2 separate regions of the Homo sapiens genome follow, and region 2 is linked to region 1. The links are contacts of gene promoters, found by promoter capture Hi-C in blood cells and fetal thymus (Javierre and others, 2016). All regions are on one chromosome and are shown on one strand. Each heading gives the region's core, a stretch centred on a gene start or on the middle of the fragment in contact. The rest is flanking DNA. Distances are from core to core; before and after follow the strand shown.

The links. Contacts are between HindIII fragments. The CHiCAGO score rates a contact against its expected background, and 5 or more counts as called.
Region 2: a contact is called between a fragment that was not itself captured here and the fragment with the promoter of C8orf17 in region 1, in 1 of 17 cell types (megakaryocytes). The highest score is 5.2, in megakaryocytes.

Annotation. Positions count from the first base shown.
Region 1 is chr8:139,929,733-139,934,981 of GRCh38, reverse strand. C8orf17 (chromosome 8 putative open reading frame 17) reads right to left here and starts at 3,562. Exons shown (of 1, transcript NR_172942.1): 1 at 1,038-3,562. The region is part of intron 19 of TRAPPC9 (trafficking protein particle complex subunit 9); the gene reads left to right. The HindIII fragment of the contact is 2,245 bases long and covers 3,419-5,249 here.
Region 2 is chr8:140,390,832-140,396,055 of GRCh38, reverse strand. All of the region lies in intron 7 of TRAPPC9 (trafficking protein particle complex subunit 9), which reads left to right. Among named protein-coding and RNA genes, the nearest start is that of TRAPPC9, 64 kb to the left of the region's middle. The HindIII fragment of the contact is 1,282 bases long and covers 998-2,279 here.

The DNA of each region.
Region 1 (5,249 bases), core at 2,313-4,812:
TGTCTTGCCTAATTCTCACAACAAGCCTGGGAAGCAGGTGTCCTGGCAAGACCTCGGAAAGCTAACCTGGTTTGACCCAGCCCACAAGTAGGACTTGGCAGTGCTGGGGCTCCTATCTCAAGTCTGAGAGTCTGAGTGGCTGCAGGTCAGTCACTTCGTCCTTTGGCCAGCGCTGTCCTGCCCAGAGCCATGTCCCCTATCTGAGCGAACACTGACCGAGGAACCCTTGCGATTGGGCCCCATGTGTCTACTTGCAAGATCAGAAGGGCGCGCCTTCCCCAGTCTGCAGGGATGGGGCCTCCTGTGGCCACATGTGCAGCCTGGAGATTCCTCGGCGGATGGAAGGCAGTTTCCTGAAGGTGGAAGAGGATTGAAAGAGAATTGCTGAGCGGTTTAGAAGTGATGACTCAGACAGGGGCTGATCATTAAGTAAAAAACTCTCTCTACACTATGAGTACCACTGAAATAGCACCAGGAAAGCCAGTCAGCAGTGCATGGCCTACAAGAGATTGGAAGAATGAAGTTTCAAGAGCCCAGGTTTTCCATTGTCTGTGCAAATTGTCATTGATGGTGGTAGAATATTTGTCATTATTGTCACTGCTAACTGTAATGACAGGAGACACCCCTGCCAGGTAGCCTGTGCACGCTCCTGCTGTGCGTACAGCTACTCTCATCTTCTCTCTCTCTCTCTCTCTCTCTCTGACTGGACTTGAAGTCAGGGATTCAGCCACATTTGCCTAATCTCTCTGTCTCTCTCTGATTGGACTTGAAGTCAGGGATTCAACCACATTTGCCTAAAACAGTGGCTGTTAGTGTCGGCACACAAAGCATTTTGTTGAATGAATGAAGGCAATCACATAGCTTAACCTGTTTTACAAAAAATTTGTTTTCAAAAATGAATTCTGCTGAGTATAACTTCTCACAGAGGTTTCTATAACGTAGTAGCAGCTAAGGATGGAGAAATATGGACAGGATGGTATTACGATCATGTAGGTTTATAAATAATAGATGACACCTACTAGCAACCACATAGCATAGTAGATGCTTTTGCTATACTATTTCTCATCTTTACCTTAATCCTTCGTGACATTATTGTTGCTGCTTTATAGATAAAGAAATTTGATGGGTTATGTAATTTACCGGAGCTCACACGGCTACGTAAGGTGGATCTGGAATCCATAGCGGTCCAGAACTGATCATGGACTTTGGTTAATCTCAAATATGTATGAATTGATTCCCAAAACTTTGTGTGGGAAGAGCAGAAACCAAGACAGGGATTGGCCAAGGGCAGGGATGACAAAAATGCTGAGCAAGTGTAAGTAGAAGAGTCGAGTTTGGGTTGCAGCCAGTGTGGTCCTCAGGGAGGCAAGACCGGGCCACGCGGTGCAGAGATCTGGGCAAAAGCGTGGAGAAGCGGCCGCGGTGGGCGGGAGGCGTCTGATCGAGGGCTCAAGACGCTGGCCCTGTGGTTTCCGTGGCCTGTGTCTGCCCAAATGGGTCCTATTCTGCCCCCACATCTGAAGGTTATAACTCTTGCTCTGTTTTGTTCAAGGCTGTGCGCTGAGTGGATCAGTGGGAGGCAGGACTTCCTTCCTGCAGGAGAGATGATATCTCCCTTGGCAACTTGGTTCTATCAGCACTGCGTATAATGTAGTTTCCATACTCATTGATTCATTCACAGTTCAACACGTATTCATGCGCTAATTAGGCTCTATTCCTTAAATGTTAGAAGAGATCTTAGTTGTGGAGTTTTCTGCTTTAGATGGAGCAGGTAGGCACAGAATCCAGGTACGATTCAGAGCACTGTTCCCTAGGGCATGTCCTCAAGGCAGCTGGAGAAACAGCTTGGTCACAAAGAATCATGCAAAAAACAAACACTGAGGAAGTCCATGGGTAGACAGCGGAGGGGCTGGGGTCTCGAGAAGAGAGATGTTGCTCCCGGCGGGGAATGAGGAGATGCTTCTGGAAGTAGTGGCTTTTTTGCGCCATGCCTTGAAGAGAAAGCATTTGTGCACCGGAGCAGAGGTGCAGGGGCGTTCCGGGAAGAAGAGCTGTATGATTTTTTTTTTTTTTTTTACCAGCTTATGCTGTGGTAACAGACTATTCCTAAATGTCAGTGACTATAAGCATGAGTTGACATCTTCTTACATTACATGTCAACGAGAGGTTGGCTGGGGCCTTGGGACCCTGCCCTGCATGACAGTGCTTTTTTTTTTTGAAGACACAGTCTCATTCTGTTGCCCAGGCTGCAGTGCAGAGGTACCATCTCGGCTCACTGCAACCTCCACCTCTGGGGTTCAGGCAATTCTCGTGCCTCAGCCTCCCACGTAGCTGGGACTACAGGCATGTGCCAACACACCTGGCTAATTTTTTTTGTAAATTAGTAGAGACGGGTTTCACCATGTTGTCCAGGCTGGTCTCGAACTCCTGAGCTCAGGCAATCCACCTGCCTCGGCCTTCCAAAGTGCTGGGATTACAGGCGTGAGCCACCGCGCCCAGTGTCTACATGACATTTCTACCCCAGGAGTCAGGTCAGCCAACATCTTGTACTTATGACGGGAGAAAGAAAGGGAGCCATACCACGTGGTGGTCCAGCGTGCTTCTGATCCAGTGTGGCATATGTCACTCTGCTCAGGTCCCGTGGCCAAGGACCTGTGGCCAAGCCTGACATCCACGAGGTGGGGACATTCTCCCATGGTGGCTACCCTGAGCGAGGCCCCGTGGTGCGGGACTCCCTCGGCTGCACGGCGAAGTGGCTCTGTGGGCTGCCTGCGGGGCCTGCCTGGCTGGTTTCTCCTTGTTCCTCCCTGTAAGGTCAATGCTTCTGAGCACCAAAGCCCTGCCTTTGGGCCAGCACCCCGCCCTCAGCCGCACATCAACACCTCTGCGGCCTCTTCTATCTCCTTTTGAATTGTATTATTGCTCTTAGGTGCTCTTGTAATGCTGGACAAATTCTCTGTGAATAAGGGAAAAAATTGAAGCATAAATCATCCGGAGAGTAGCATTTTCTAATTTGGATGTGTGGCAAAACAACTCTGGGTGATTTTTATTCTTTATTTTCAACACAGAATTTCTCTGACAGGCCATCGTCAGCTGCTATAGAGCAATAAATCAGAGTCATCTTTTCCGGGTGAAATGGGCTTAATTTCTCATCCTTTTGTTCGTGTTTCCCTTCCTCTTCTACCGCATGGCACTTGTAATCCTAATGATGCTGTGATGAGATATGATGGTCAGAGCCTCAGACTTATCAGGATGGGCTGACAAATCGTGGAGATCCGCACTGGTCCCACACCCGCCTCTGCTCAGGCGGGCAGGATGTAGATCTGCAGACTGGACCAGCTCAAGTTGATAGCCCCGTAGCATGCAGAGAAAGGAGCACTTTCCAGACCGCGGGGCCCAGAGGCTCAGGTCCAAAGCTTTGTGTGACCTCTGGGCTTGGCTTTTTGTACAATGAGAGCTTTGGACTAGGTGGTCTTCAAGGTCAACTGTAAAATCCTTGACACCACAGACAGGGTTCCAGTGGGCACCTGCCTTAAGGTGCGTGCCAGCCTCTGTGGAAGAGTGTTCATCCTTCTTTCTAGGGCTGTGGTTGTGGGTGATTGCACTAGGAAAGACTTGCAGAAACTGTCATTGTGGATATTTGCCACGTCATTAACCTCAGTCTCCTCCTCTGTGAGATGGGGATGTCAGGATCCAGCTCCTATGGTTGCGGTGAGGATTACGTGTATGCTCGGCTCTACTGCAGCTGGTGTTCAGTGAGTGGCAGTTGTCTATGGTTAATATTCTCATTTTTCAGATTAGAAAACTGAGCCTCATGAGGTCGAAGTGTTTCCCGAGGATCTCACAGCTTGCGGTTATAGAGGTGGGGTTAGAATCATCTAGAAGCTCTTTTCCTCACCCCTTTGGGGCAGTTTGGGAGGTGGGAGGACAAGAGCCAGGGCCTCGGGGTTGCTTCCTGGACAGACAGGGAACAGGCTCCATGACCTGAGGGCTGATTCCAGCAGGGTGGGCACCCTGCATGTGCCTTTTTCCATACCTATGAAAGGGGGCACCACCGAGTGCAGAGTCAATGAGCTAATGCAGGTGTCCAGCGTACACTGAGCACTCAACAGTGTTGCTGTCGTCGTGATTTCATCCTCATAACCCTTGGGTGGCCCCGTTTTCGCCTCCTTCCCTGTTTTGAGCGTCTCCTCAGAGGGTCTCATCTATGAGACAGCGGTGGAATGAGGCTGGGTTTCTAAGGGAGCTCCAGCTCTGGAAGGCCGGTTACTAGGATTGGTTGAAAACGAAATCTCATTGCAAAATAAGTTCCCTCCTCCATGGGGCTAAACACGGGGGATGCTCCTTATTGTATTTGACGGGTCTAGAAGGATCAAGATGGCCTTTGAATATTAATCTGTCACTGGTACCATTTTGTCTGTTTGATGTCTAGGATGGAAAAAAGAGGGGTGTGACTATCTCCTGTCTGATGCGAGCATTGCTGCTTGGAAAGCAGAACAGAAGTCCCTTTCCAAGGCTTGGCTCTAGTCATCGACCCCCTTGTTTTCCCTGTGATCCTGAGCCACCCACCTGCCCTACCGACACCACGGGAGAAGTTGACTGGCGAGAACCGTGTTGTGTGAGCGCGCTGGCCTTGCCACTGCTCACCTTGGCTGTATCTTGTTCACGTTACACATCAACTCCCGGCTGGCGCAGCCCCACTGCCCCACACTATAAGCCTTCCCATCTCAGGAGTTGGGATGGAGGGGTAAACATGCATTAAGATAGTGCGTAGAAGGCTTAAGGGTCTCAGCTCTTCCTGAGTGTCACCCCCTTGGCTGTCACCTCTTAGGCATCTGGGAGGTCCCAGAAATAAGAGAAGTGAAGTTATGCTTGTTCAGCCCCTAGCATATGCCATTCACGATGCTCAATGTTTTCTTTAAATTACCTGTTCATAACAGAGAAGTGTAGAGAATCGGCAGAATCCACGCACAGTGCCAAACACGTATATTGATGGCCTTCTGTGTGTCAGGTGCTGCTCCTGAGGACTGCACCTACAAGGTGGTGCTTGCTCCATTTTACAGGACATGGAAGGGTCTGAGGCAGAGAGGGGCTGGGCTGGAGATGAGGATGGAAAGGTGGGGAGGGCAGACCCCAGAGGCCCATCCCAGCTTAGCCTGCTCTGCTGGGCCTTCCTTGAACACCTGGCCAGCGCTGCCCAGGCTTGCTGGGTGACCAGCCAAGGGACCTGAGTCCACTCCCCACACACC
Region 2 (5,224 bases), core at 389-2,888, 460 kb before region 1:
CCCTTGGGGAGCCCAGGCGAGCAGTGCTGACAGCTTCCCCAAAGGACTGGGGCTGTTGGCAGGAAGGCCAGCCCGCTGGAAACGTGCTTGGGAGTCTACGTGGAAAGGGTCAGCGGCCGGCTGTGGGTCGGGTGGAATGGAGTGTTGCTCTGTTAGGTGCCCGATGGTCAGGCCGGGCTCCGAGGAGGGCAAGCTGCAAGGCAGTGGTGGAGGGAAAGAGGAGAGGTTCAGCTTCTCACATAACGAGAGAGGTGTGGGTCTGGGGGCTCAGGCGAGAGACAGGGCAGGGGGTGGAGGAGAGAGGAGAGAGACTTTCAAATCAGTTTCTCTTTTGAACACACAAAGAAGTATGACTAATAATAAGACACTCATGCTTATCATCCAGATTTAATATGTTGAAATGTTGCCGCATTGACTACAGAGATTCTTAATTTTTTCAATTGAAAGCAGATAACCTAAGTAGAAACAAAATAACAGTCACCACCATCTCAGAGTTGGTCCATATTTTGGTACTTTATAATGTTTATAGCCATAGTCTATAAAAAGAGAGGCGCTTTAGCATGAGAGTTGAGCACACAGACTGGATACAGACTGCTCGGGTTGGCATTCCAGCTTCACTTCCCTTGACGAGATGTTTAACCTCTGTGTGCCTCAGTTCCCTCTTCTGTAAAGTGTATTTACTGCCCCTTGGACCCGTCATCTTGGCTAATTTCCTAGATTAGACGTTGGTAGGGAGGCCGATAAGTCAAAGTGGCAAGTGTCAGTGTCACACCAAAGGGAGCGACCAGAACAGAGTAAAGCCCATAAACCGAGTAAAAACAAACAACACCACAGTCCCTCAAAGCTGTAGGCCACGTAGTATGAGGGAAACAGCACCACCGCTGGGGCAGTGTGTCATCAGAAGAGCATTAGGAAGAGGTCCGTATCTTGCAGTTTATGTTGAAGTTTCTGGTAAAGATGGTCAGAAGCGGGAACCTGACACTTCAAAGTGGAAGCTTCAGTTACCTGGGCGCCCAAGGGGAGGTGTTCTCCCCAGTGATGCCGGGCAAATGAACCAACAGCTGGATCATACTTCTCATTTGACATGCTTTTTGGGGGACCTACGTGGGGTTCAGCACTGCGCCGGGCCACAGATTTGCAGGGCCAATGAGGATGTGGTCCCTGCCCCGGAGCCTGATGCTCTAAGTGCTGAGGGTGGAGGGCTTCCCGGAGGAGGTGTTCTCTGAGGAGAGTGAAAAGTACCCGGCAGAGTGGTGCTGAGGAGCCTCTGAGCAGAGAGACTGGGTGTAAACATGTGGCTGGGTGTGAGCTCTGAGCACAGAAGTCACTTGGGGATCATAGCAGTTTTGTTTGTGAGGGACAGTGTGGGGAAGAGAGGCCCCAACGCAGGCTGAGGTCAGTTCCTGTCACAGGTCTTGCATAAAAGTCATCAGGTGGGCAAGAGAGAATCCCTGAAGGAATCTAAGCTGGGAGTCGCAGTGGAGTCGCGCTGTCAGATGGGCTCAGGTTCACACCCCTGTGTTGCCACCTGTTCGCTGCATAACCTTGAGCACAATCACTCTGTGTCTCTGCCTCTTAATAGTATGGTCTGTAAAATGACAGGATAACAAGTTCATGTGGTCACTGGAAGGACTGGCCTTGACACCTCCTGTCCAGTACTGTCTTGATGCCTGCCCCATAAAGTGACTCTGCGATGGGCAAGTGTTATGATCAGATTGGAGGGTGTAAAGAGACATCTTTTGTGACAGTGGAGGGTGGACTGTGCTTTTAAACGGACCCTCCGAAAGCCTGAAGCAGTGGAATTGCAGACAATTTGGTTGGGAGCTGGGGGCAGGGCTTTGAGACTGGCTTGCCGTTAACAACTGGAGTTGCCTTTGCAAGTTAATGCTGCTCAATTGGGCATGCAGGGAATCTCTTTTCACTGGTGGGTATAGAAACACACATTTCATAAAATAAAATGTTTTCACTTAAAATGTGAGGACATTTTGTTCTTTGGAGCAGCCTGTCCTTTTGCTGTTTGCTCTTTCTTCCTGTGGACCACTAGAGGTCAGCAAAGACACGGCGAAAGGGGAACAGCGCTCCCATGCTGGGCGGGCGGGGACAGTGCAGATGTGGTTCCGTGGCCCTGTGAGTTTTCCCCAGCACGACGCTTGGCTTGAGTTGACTCATCTCCATGTTTGTTTGCCAGATGAGCAGGCAGCAAGATAATGAGTTCTGGTGGGATTTTATAAGAACAATAAAGAAGAGGGGTCTGTAGTTTTTCTGAAATAGAACAAGCTTTTGGTTCTTGATCAAGTATGTTCCATTGTAGAATTGATGAGTTGTATCTATTCCTGGAAATGACTTTGGCTAATATGGAAATTTTGAAAGGAACTGAGATATGATTATTGCAGGTTCCTTCTGCTTTAAGAATCCCTGTGCAAATACAAAAACTGATAAATAATACATCTGGATTTAGTGGTATTGGAAAGGGTTTTTTCGTTTTACGGAATTCACTGCTGAGTTCCTTCTCTTTGTGTGCAGGGATATGGATTGACCTGTCTTTTCTTTAGTTGTTTAGGTGAATGGTTTATGATAATTATCTATCTAAGATAATTCACAAATGGCAGCAAATACCTCATTTAATAGCTGTCTACCTGTACATTTATGGGTTGGACATGTGGATTTTTACAAGCAAATAGTGAAGTAGAGGTGAGGTGGAAGAAGCATGGACTTTGGCCCCCCAGATTTAGGTTGAAGTTGCCATTTCCTCACTGTGCGACCTGGAATAGTTATGTAACCTCATTAGCCTGTTTCCAAGTCTATAAAATGGGAATGATAGCTGGGTGTGGTGGGGGGCACCTGTAATACCAGCTACTCGGGAGGCTGAGGGAGGAGAATCGCTTGAACCCAGGAGGTGGAGGTTGCAGTGCGCCGAGATGGCGCCACTGCACTCCAGCCTGGGTGACAAGAGCAAAACTCCATCTAAAAAAATAAAATAAAATAAAATAAAATAAAATAAAATAAAATAAAATAAAATAAAAATAAAATGGGAATGATAATATTCACTTCTTTCTAGAGTTGCTGTAAGTTGTGAATGATAGAATAATGCATATAAAGTGCTAAGCACTGTGCTTGGCTTTTAGAAAGCATTCAGCAAACATGTCTGCCTCACGGCTCACTGGTTGTATCAAAGGGATGCAGGCAGCTCCTGTTTGTTGAGGACCCATTAACAGACAGTTTACAGGCTTGTGAATTTGGTTATTTTCTTTAATCCTTATAATTCTGTGTTTCCAGTACAGATATTCTTGTTTGTAGAGGAGGAACCTCAGGCTAAGGAAAGGTTGTACAACTTGTCCAAAGCCAGACCATAATTTCAGAGGCGAAGGGCCTCTGGGAGGCGTGCTGGTTCTCTCTTTCCTGCCCTCACTCACTTGTTCCACACCAAAGGCCAGGCACTCGGCGCTGTGTCCGTCGTCTGCTAGCCTTGAGCGTTCAGCGGGCAGCAAAACAGACGTGGTCTCATGCTGACTGAGCTTCAGGTCTACAGGGGGAAATGGGTACTGAGCAGATAAACATAAACATAGATAATTGTGAATTTGATCCAAGGAAAAGAACATGTTCTGCCTTGTAGACCTGGGGAATTTTCTAGTCAGGCCTGCTCTAGCAGTATTAATCCTGTAAAATAAGCTCTGTTGGCACACAAAAAAGATGAAAAGGCAGAACCTCTCCATTATCGGATAAGCTGAAACTCATTGATAATATGAGTGATTAAGCAGCCAGCTTGTTGCATGCATTTAGCTAGATGCTTTTCAGATATTGGCCATAATCATCACAACAACTTTGCAAAGTAGTTTATTACGCTCCATTTTAAGGATGAGAAATTGAGGAGAGGAGTTTGCCGTGTCTCCAGGATTGTCTTGTAGATACCACCATTGGTATTTAAACCATTTGGGTTCTAAAATCCAAGCTCTATGTACCACATCAGGTAGTTTCCCTCAAACTACCCAAATGATTGAAATTCACTTTCTTAATTCTTTTTTTTTTTTTGAGACGGAGTTTCACTCTTGTAGCCCAGGTTGGAGTGCAGTGGCGCGATCTCAGCTCACTGCAACTTCTGCCTCTTGGGTTCAAGCAATTCTCCTGCCTCACCCTCCCGAGTAGCTGGGATTACAGGTGCCCGCACCACACCCGGCTAATTTTTGTATTTTTGGTAGAGATGGGGTTTCACCATGTTGGCCAGGCTGGTCTCAAACTCCTGACCTCAGGTGATCCACCTGCCTTGGCCTCCCAAAGTGCTGGGATTACAGGCGTGAGCCACCATGCCCTGCTCACTTTCTTAATTCTTTTTTTTTTTTTTTTTTGAGACAGAGTTTCGCTGTTGTTGCCCAGGCTAGAGTGCAATGGCACGATCTCGGCTCACCACAACCTCTGCCTCCTGGGTTCAAGCGATTCTCCTGCCTCAGCCTCCTGAGTAGCTGAGATTACAGGCATGTGCCACCACACCCGGCTAATTTTGTATTTTTAGTGGGGACAGGGTTTCTCCATGTTGGTCAGGCTGGTCTCGAACTCCCGACCTTAGGTGATCCACCTGCCTTGGCCTTCCAAAGTGCTGGGATTACAGGCGTGAGCCACTGCACCCGGCTCACTTTCTTAACTCTTAATTAGTCAAAAATGGCAAGTGACAGTAAGAGAAAGTGGTAGTAAGGAATTGTTTGAAAAACTAGAAAATAATCTGACTTTACCAGATTAGAGAACATACTCTAGGATCAACTCTCATTGAATCCAACACCCTTTGCCTCCCACAAACCAAATATTCAGGAATGATTCCGAGCCATTTGAAAACATTTTGGCTTATGATACTGCTGACTAAGACCTGCCACCTCTTTGTTCCTGGTTAATTTTCTCTTCAAAACCATTCAAATTTTATGCAGGCTACTCTGTTCAGATGTAAGAATAGCCTCTTTAAAATTTTTGATGCAGTTCCTTAATGAAGCTGTTGCTAAGGAAACCCAGGAAAAGCCTGCTAGATATGCACATAATAATTGCAACCTCAAACTTTATGTCAATTTAAGCTGAAAATCAGAGGCACGGGGAGATTTGGGAAAGGCTTTTTAAGATAGAAGGGGGAAAGTAGTAGGAATGCAGCTTAGCTATGGCTGAAACAGTTCAGTCCAGCCAGCAGGGTGCGTGGCTTTCAGAGATTGTTTGTGAGGATTTCATAGTTCTCACAAAGAAACTGTTG